Regions from separate parts of the Homo sapiens genome. Here regions 1 and 2 are each linked to region 3. The links are contacts of gene promoters, found by promoter capture Hi-C in human tissues and cell types (Jung and others, 2019). All regions are on one chromosome and are shown on one strand. Each heading gives the region's core, a stretch centred on a gene start or on the middle of the fragment in contact. The rest is flanking DNA. Distances are from core to core; before and after follow the strand shown.

The links. The method cuts DNA at HindIII sites, captures the fragments that hold promoters and counts their contacts. A contact is called where the count stands out against the background at its distance.
Region 1: a contact is called between a fragment that was not itself captured here and the fragment with the promoter of RERE in region 3, in 1 of the 25 tissues and cell types used here (heart left ventricle).
Region 2: a contact is called between a fragment that was not itself captured here and the fragment with the promoter of RERE in region 3, in 1 of the 25 tissues and cell types used here (aorta).

Annotation. Positions count from the first base shown.
Region 1 is chr1:8,093,346-8,096,261 of GRCh38, reverse strand. All of the region lies in intron 2 of ERRFI1-DT (ERRFI1 divergent transcript), which reads right to left. Among named protein-coding and RNA genes, the nearest start is that of ERRFI1-DT, 68 kb to the right of the region's middle. RefSeq lists an enhancer at 594-1,793. The HindIII fragment of the contact is 3,721 bases long and covers 1-2,916 here.
Region 2 is chr1:8,294,893-8,297,985 of GRCh38, reverse strand. LINC03154 (long intergenic non-protein coding RNA 3154) reads right to left here. Exons shown (of 2, transcript XR_007065454.1): 2 at 1,537-3,093. Among named protein-coding and RNA genes, the nearest start is that of SLC45A1, 22 kb to the left of the region's middle. The HindIII fragment of the contact is 7,461 bases long and covers 1-3,093 here.
Region 3 is chr1:8,816,222-8,819,098 of GRCh38, reverse strand. It overlaps RERE (arginine-glutamic acid dipeptide repeats), which reads left to right and starts at 1,459. Exons shown (of 23, transcript NM_001042681.2): 1 at 1,459-1,939. RefSeq lists silencers at 922-1,151, 1,252-1,551, 1,802-1,861 and an enhancer at 1,215-1,509. The HindIII fragment of the contact is 13,824 bases long and covers 1-2,877 here.

The DNA.
Region 1 (2,916 bases), core at 301-2,800, 720 kb after region 3:
AACGCCCAGGTCCAGGAATAAGGGACAGAGGCCAATAGTAACACAGATTTTATATTTTTCAACTGGAAAGCTTGGAGATAGTACAGGTAGATACAAATAATATTGGAGTGTTGGAAATTTTCTTCATGTTCATGTAAGGATAGTTTTACTATCAGTTCTTAGGAAATTGGAATATAAATAAACAATAACAATTTATCTAGACCATGTAAACATTATGGATTTTTCAATTTGCCCTGAAAATCTCAGATTTGCTTGATAGATTTCATGTGGTAGCCTCATTAGACCCCAAAGTGGGAGTGGTGTATAAGAAGGGATTCTGAAACCTAAAGTCCTTCAGCGCTGAAGTCTATCTGGCAGGAGAATTTTAAGTTTCCTTGACTTCAGGGGTTAGGTAGGTTTTTTCCATAGGCATAGAGATGAGTCAATTTTAGGTGTTTTTTCCTCATGGGGCAGCTTTGATAGAGTGGAAGGCAGAGAATTTATGACTAGAAGACCTGGGGTTTTGATCCCTGTTCTGCCACTTACTAGTAGGAGGTTGGGGAGGTTATTTGACCTCTCCAAGACTCAGTTTCCTCATCTGTAAAATGGGGGTGATAAAACGATCTCACAAAGTTGTTGCGGTCACGGAATAAGGTAAGGTATGTGAGGGCATGTTATAGGAACCTCGTGAATGTTTAGCCGATATGAATCTTAGCAACTGGGAATCATTATTTTATGTTTCTAGTATCTGATAGTTAAAGTATTTTAAAAATCACAATTTTTTAGAGAAAATAAATAATTTCACCATTGTTACCAAGGATACTGGTCTCCAATACTGCATCTGTGAAGACTGCTTCCCACATCCACAAACAATGAAAAATCCTCATCTCCAGATCCTCCCATTTATCTTAGTAACTGTCTAATGTAAATCCAAAAGAGCAGAAACTATGTCTTCTTTGCACTTAAGACAATCTCCTCACCATAGTAAATACTCAACAAATACTTGAGACGTGTGTTTACAACAAGGCATTTTAAGGGATTCCAGTGTTTTTCTGCCTTCTTCACTTCGGCTCATTCCCTTGTGGAAAACATCGCTTGTGCTGACCAGAGGATGAGCTCTTGGCCCCTTCTGATTCACAGCCTTTTCCTGTGAACCACGGCTCTCAGCGCTAAAAGCAGGATGTCACGCTCATATTTGTTTTGCTTCTCCCCTCTCACCAGGAGTTTAAACCGACTTAGATTAAGAAACTCGAATCTCCGCCATGCTTTTTGATCTTTGGTTAAAGTTCAACGTGACAAGCACATTTGCTGCCCATGGGCACTTTGCCCTCTGATGTGGAGGAGCTCACCATGTCTCAGCAAGAAACACACAACACAACACACCTCACATTTGGGGATGGACGCGTCTCCCTAGGAGCCCTTGATGGCTCTGAAAGTTTGGTATCCAAACTTTTGGATTCCTTTCAAAGAAAAAAATCATCATGAAAGCTCTGCCAAGATTTGAAAAGTGAAGTGGATGGAGTGACTTCATCTTTGAATGCAAGAGGCAGATCACTGGGTGGAGTTAATAAGGGCAGAGGTGAGTCATGGAGTCCTGAGATGCAAATATAATTACAGCTCATTTAGAAATGAGCACGTATGTACATGACCTTTATTCTCCACCAAAGCTGCACGAGTGCTCACTTCCATGCTGACATGGACAGCCCGTGGAAATAAGGCCAAGCAGCAGGAACCAGACATCTGACCGTGTTGACGGAGATTAGATGGCTCCGAGTGGATGAGGCGTTGAGAAACCCTAGCTGCCATTTATCAGTTACATACCTGAAGAGTTCAAGATACGCAACTGGCAGGAGGGACCAGTTGGTCTCCACCATGCTGATGGTTAGAGTCTATAATGATTTGCCAGACTGAGGTTGCATCTCCCAGCTTCCCTGTTCCATGCCTCCACTTCCAGCCTCACGCTGACCCTGCAGCTTCCCTCTTCCTTCCCTTCAATAATCCCTGATATTTAGATTTTGCTTTTATGGCTCTTCAGGGTTTATACTGCTCAAACCGTGTTCATTTGCTTCCTTTGAAATGACATCTTCACCTGCCTCTCCTGTCATTTTCCCATCCATCCTGGTTCCTCACCTCTAACTTGCACTATCTCAAGAGTCTCCTCGTTTCTTGTCTCGTTTGCCCTTTGGTTTATCCTAGACCTCACTGCCAGATTTGTTGCCCCAAAATGCCCGTTGCTCAGAAATCTTTGATACTTTTCCACCACCTGCAGACTCCGCAACCTGACATTCAGACGTAAAACCTGCCCAATTCTACATCGTCAGAACTCTCTCCTGCTCCGGTCTACCTGATGGCCCCCCTGTAACACACCCATACCGTGTTCAGGGCTGGCTCTTGGCTCGTAATGTCTCCTCAGTCTCCTCTGTGTCAAATGAATGACCTGGCCTCCAAAGTCCAGTCCAGGTGGAGCCTCCCTGTGAGGCCTCACCAACAGTCTCCTAGCTTCTTATCCCCTCAATGTGAATGCACGGCTGCCTCCTGCTCAGATGCCAGTTCCTCCACAAAGCATCCCTATTCCTCCCAGCTGGAAGGGACCCCCGCCCCCTGACCTCTGCCACTTTCATGAATGCCCATGACACATATCACAAACTGCCTGATTGTATAGTTATTTCCCTGTTAGATTATAAACTCACTGGTGATAGGAGCCGTGTCTTACTCATCTTTTTATACCTTGCAGCGCCCAACACAGTATATTATCAAAAACTATCTGTTGGATGAATAAACAAAGCACTTAAAGCAACAGACTTTTTGTTTTTTTTTTTTTTTGGAGACAGAGTCTGCTCTGTCACTCAGGCTGGAGTGCAGGGGCGCGATCATAGTTCACTGCAGCCTCCACCTTCCAGGGTCAAGCACTCCTCCTGCCTCAGCCTCCTGAGTAGC
Region 2 (3,093 bases), core at 25-2,524, 520 kb after region 3:
TGTCTTACACAAAGAGGGTTGAGGCTAGGTGCAGTGGCCCACACCTGTAATCCCAGCACTTTGGGAGGCTAAGGCTGGTAGATTGTGTGAGCCCAGGAGTTCAAGACCAGCCTGGGAAACATAGTGAGACCCCTATCACTACAAAAAATACAAAAATTAGCCAGGCACCGTGGCGCACACCCGTAGTAGTCCCAGCTACTGGGAGGCTGAGGTGGGAGGATCACCTGAGCCTGGGAGGTTGAGGCTGCAGTGATCCATGATTGCACCACTGCACTCCAGCTTGGATGACAGAGTACGACCCTGTCTCAAAAAAAAAAAAAAAAAAAGTTGGTTTTATGAAGCTTTGTGAATCTCCTGATAGGCCTTAGTACAATTAAACACAATGAAGACAATTGCTTTCTACTTACACGGGGCCTGGGGATTGTTTCCCATTCACTACGCCATTTCTTCTTCCTGGGTGCACAGGAAGACTCCGTTTCCCAGTAGCCCTTGCTAGGGTGAGATCATGTGACTGAGTTCTTGCCAATATGGATGTGAGTGGAAGTGATGGTTGCTATCAGTTCAACGTGTTAGAGCAGGTGTGAGCTCTTCACACTTTTGCTCTCTCATCAGGGGCTGTTAGCAAATAACTTCCAGATGGCAGATCTGTGAGAGGGAAGCATACTGGATTCCTGAGTTGCTGCAGGAGGAGAGCCACCTGACCTCTGAACTCAAGGGAGCCACTTTTTGTGTTTGCCCCCTGAGCTTTGGGGATTACTTGTGCCCTTGGCCCACCCTGATTAACAGAACACACTTCTGCGATACTACATTCTCAGAGGGGTTACGGGACCTTAGATATCTGAGCCCTGCACTGTGTCCCTAGAGACCTCATTCTGGGCTGCGTCAATCTATTAATCAATAATCAAGGAGTATAATCATTCTTGGAAGCATCTCATTAATGTGGGAGATTAGGATGCATTTCTCATGAAGTTAAGAGCTCTCCTTTGAAACTCAATCAGTAAGTAGGTACCCAGTTCCCCTCTTTGGCCAGCTCACAGTGTCCATTTCAGACCCAAAAATGAATTCAAGGTGTCAGAGGCATTCAAACTAGAGCAACTCCATCTTGAACAGGAGCTGGGTAAAATAAGGCTGAGACCTACTGGGCTGCATTCCCAGGAGGTTAAGGCATCCTTAGTTACAGGATGAGATAGGAGGTTGGCACAAGATACAGGTCACAAAGACCTTCCTGATAAAATAGCATGTTGTAAAGAAGCTGGCCGAATCCCACCAAAACCAAGATGGTGACGAAAGTGATTTCTGGTCATCCTCACGGCTCATTATATATTAATTTTTGTGCATTAGCATGCTAAGAGACCCTCCCGCCAGCGCCATGACAGTTTACAAATGCCATGGCAATGTTAGGAAGTTACCCTTCATGGTCTAAAAAGGGGAGGAACCCTTAGTCCCAGGAAATGCCCACCTCTTTCCTGGAAAACTCATGAATAACCCACCCCTTGTTTAGCACATAACCAAGAAGTAACAGTAAGTACAAGTAGCTGAGCAGTCCACGAGCAGCCATTCTTTATTCCTTTACTTTCCTAATAAACTTGATTTCACTTTACTGTATGGACTCACCCCGAATTCTTTTTTGTGTGATATCCAAGAACCTTCTCTTGGGGTCTGGATTGGGACCCTTTTCTGGTAACAAAGGGAAGAGAATCAGAACGCTACCTCACTCCGAGTCGTGAACACGAGAAGAGCTTGCTATCTATCATGACTGATATTTTTTATCATGGTGTGAATAATTGGCCACTATTAGTCAAAACACTCCCCAAAAGCAAGAGGCTCTCAGCTGAGAATGCTCACCCCTTCTCCAAATGCACTAATCAGACAGCTCGCTCCTCAGCCTGTGGGGCCACCATGAGGCCCCTCCCAAAATACCCATCGCTGTTCTCCCTGAGGAGCCCCAGGGCTGCTGTAGATTTGTTCTCTATAAGACTCTGAAATGGGTAAAAATAATACTTATTAAAATAATTCCAAAAGCATTTTAAACCTTTGATTAAGAAAACAAGTGATTTTCTACATTCCCATGATAACTATTTCAATATTATTATATGTAATATATTATTTCAATATAGCTGATCAGAGTCCTTGCACTGACATTAAATGACAACACAGAGACACATGGGCTTGATGGCGGGCACCTGTAATCCCAGCTACTTGGGAGACTGAGGCAGGAGAATCGCTTGAACCCAGGAAGCAGAGGTTGCAGTGAGCCGAGACAGTGCCACTGCACTCCAGCCTGGGCAACAAGAGTAGGACTCTGTCTAAAAAAAAAAAAAAAAAGAAAGAAAGTTCCTAGAAGCAGGACCATGCAGGGCAGGTGCCAGGGTGTTCGTGGAAGGGGCTGTTGGGGGAGAACCTTCTTGCACTCTGTGGCACCGGGGTGCCCAGCAGTCTCTGCTATCTGCCCAGCATCCAAGGCCTGTGGCCTTCAACTCATTTTGGAGAGGCTTCCCAGCAGCAGCTGTGCCTGACGGTACTTGGGTGGAGTCTCCACCTCTGAATTCTGTCACCTTTTCAGAAAGTGACAGTTTTGAACAGTTTTGCCTTTTTGTAAAGTGTAGGCAATTATAATGGTGATACCAACATACACAGTTTGAGCGGCCCCTCTCTCCCTCTCTCCCAAGCTCCATGATGAACATTTCTAGGCCCTTTGTGGGCCTCCTCACCACACTCAATGGAGGAGGGCAAGCTGGGGTTCATCTTGCCAGGCTCAGCTCAGTTCCCCTCCTTGGGGTCTGCCCTGGCTCTGCTCTCTTCAGGTTCCTACCCACAGCTCAATTATTCAGCCTCACAGAACAGGTCTTCTTTCTCCTCTCTGCTTTCCTGGGTAGACCATGGGCTCCTGGGACATAAGAAGTGAATCTTGTGTACGTTGGTGTCTCTGGGACCCAGAGCAGAGTTAGATGTGGAGTTGAACAAATAGCCTTGAACCGATCTAATGCTTTTATTTTTTTGTCCAAGATTCCTTGCTCCAAGAAGCTGTTGTAAGTAAGGAGCCAGGTTCCCTCTGTCCCGCTGCGCCCTGGCTAACTCGTGGAATTCTCCTCT
Region 3 (2,877 bases), core at 210-2,709:
GGAGAAACCCCATCTCTACTAAAAATACAAAATTAGCTGGGTGTGGTGGCGCATGCCTGTAATCTCAGCTACTCGGGAAGCTGAGGCAGGAGAATCGCTTGAACTGAGGAGGCGGAGGTGGCGGTGAGCCGAGATCGCGCCATTGCACTCCAGCCTGGGCAACAAGAGTGAAACTCCCTCTCAGAAAAAAAAAAAAAATGAATAATTCAATGTGGAAATTATAATCTGAATAGATTTTCCAAGGAGAAAATTATCACTTCTTTTGAAACAGATGAGTGAATTATTTTGTGCTACGTTTTCTACCCCTTATTTTATACGGACCTTAACTCCTTCGGGAAGAGTGTATGGTATAAGGACACCAATAAGCATTTACAGAATATTAACAAACCAACAATAGGTTGATGATTCACCCTGGATTCGTGCCAGGCTCTGTGAAAGAACTCAATAAACATGATGTGCATTTCAAAAACTGCTAATCATAATTGAAATTTCCAAACCCCTCAATCCCATAAATTATATGAACTAGAATATGATCATTTGGCCTGCCCCTACTCCCTTTACAGCATGATAGACCCTGTGATTATCAGGCTTTCGGGAAGTGGGACACAATACTTCATTCTTCAAAGAAAAAGAGGTGATGTTTGGTCTTTTCCTCTTTTTAGATTTTTTTTCACACGTACCTTATAGAGTTGTACACTGCTCTTTCTAAAATCCCTTCTGTACCTGTACAGTCTCTCCTTTATGCCTTCATGACACTTTTTATTCTTTTCAAATAAGCAGTGCGACTTATCACTTTTATTTTTCTTTCTGTAATTCATCTTTTGTCATGTACACTATTTGAAAAATATTACAAGCCGCTCATCAGAATTTCGAAAGAGTCCATATGAGAATGGTTTACACCCACTCTGTAGCCCGCAGCAACATGGATCCGCGTCCTAATGACTGAAAAGGCCAATTAAGACCCGGGTAACAGCAAGATCAACCGGACTTCCCCCCACCCCACCCGGGACCTGCCCGCGCCGCCAGCCCGGCCCAGCCCGGGGGGCGCGGGGGGCGGTACTGGAGCGCGGCGGGCGGCGGAGGAGGGCCGGCCTCGCACTCTCACAAAGACGCGCCCGCGGCGGGAGCCCAGCCCACCGCCTCTGGCCGCCGCCTGCAGCGCGAGCCCTCGAGCCCCGGGCCGCGGCGTTGTCAAGGCTCGGCCTCTCTCCGCCTTCTTCTCTGCTCATTTTATTAAAAAGATTAAAAAAAAAAAAAAAAAAAAAAAAAAAAGGAAAAAGAGATCCCGCCTCCTCCGCCTCCCATTGGCCGGGCCCCCGGCCGCGTCACACCGCGCTGTACCAATGGAGGGGCGCGATACTGCGAGGTGGGCCGGGCCCGAGCGGGGAGTGGGCGGCGGGTCGGTGCAGCAGCTCCGCCGCGGCTCCGCCACCATCGCGGAGGTGCCGCTGTTCCCACAGACGCTCGCGAGCAACCCTCCGCGCTCCGGAGCCTCCTCAGCCTCCCGCACACCCCGAGACGCTCGCCCCGCTGGGCCTCGGTCCCCGCCTCCTCCCCCGTCCTTTTCCCCTCTCTCGCTCCCCACATTGTCTCTGCCTCATTTTCTCTCCTAGTTGAGGATTAAAAAAAAAAAAAAATCACCATCATCCTCAGGGAGCCCCCTCGCCCTCGGAAAACAAAACCAGACATGATCCTGGGCTCCTGCTTCTGAAAGATCTGCCCGACCGAGGAGGAGGGAGCCTAGGTTCAAGTCGCAGGAAAGGTCACGGCAGGGAAGCCCCCTCAGCCCCTCCGCGTCGCCTCCCCGCGGGCCGCCCCTCTCGGCCCTGCGCCCCGCGGCCCCGCAGCCTCCGCGCGGCCTCCCGCCCCATCCCCGCCACTTTCCCCGGAGCTGGGCCGCGAACACCTCACTATTGATGGTGTAGCGCTTTAGGGGAAGGTAAGTGTCCAACTTGCCCGCGCCGGGTCGTGTGCTTTCTTTTTTGGCCCCTCGTCCTGGTGGTCAGAGAGGGTCGGCCGTGAAAGCAGTCACTCGCCCGGGGGGAGGCAGGAAGAAAAGGCTGGGGTCGAAGCCGAAGTCGAGGGGAGTCGGGCGAGGGCAGGGCACTTCTTTGGTCCTGTCCGGGCCAGGTGACCGTTCCTGCGTGCCTTCTGACCCCTGCTCTCTCTTGGCCTCTTATTCATGCTCTTGTTCTACTTGTTTGAGGTTAAACTATTTCATGTGACTACATTATTGGCTGAAACTGGAAGGGAAGGAAGTCAAGGACTGAAACTGTAAATTTCTTGAATGTTTGTGGATTTCGGGGTGCTGGGGGGAGGACTTTATTATTAAAGTATCATTTTCTCATTGGGGGAAGATTTCCTCTTTGTGCTCCCAATCTCTAGTTCTCAGCTGTATGTGATTAGAAAATTATGAAACCCAAAGTCACTTGCAGCAGAATAGAATTCTTACTATCCTGTTTTAGTTCTGCTCTCTGAAGGAGGGTGGCTTCTATTTATTACTAATTTTTAAGATGATGGAAAGATTCGTAGTTTTACATACACGTGTGTATGTGTGTCTGCTAGGAGGGGGGAAAAGTGTTGCAGGCTTCCTTTGAAACTGGTTGCTTGAGAAGTTGTTGAAAGGAAAACAGAATGATTCATTGTTGAATTGTCATTTTCCTCTGTCTCTTTTCCAAGGTTTGCTTACAATTTTTCTGGATTACAGACTTCAAACATTGATTTAAGTAAAATGGGTCCTTGAGAAACTGGGTGCTTTAAATGTTTCAGTATCTGTTGCTTTTTTAAGGTACATTTAGAAAGTAGTTTTGTATGAATCGTGAAATAGCCTTCTTCACAGCGAATTTTTAAACGCAAAAAAAGATAACTAGTAAGAGG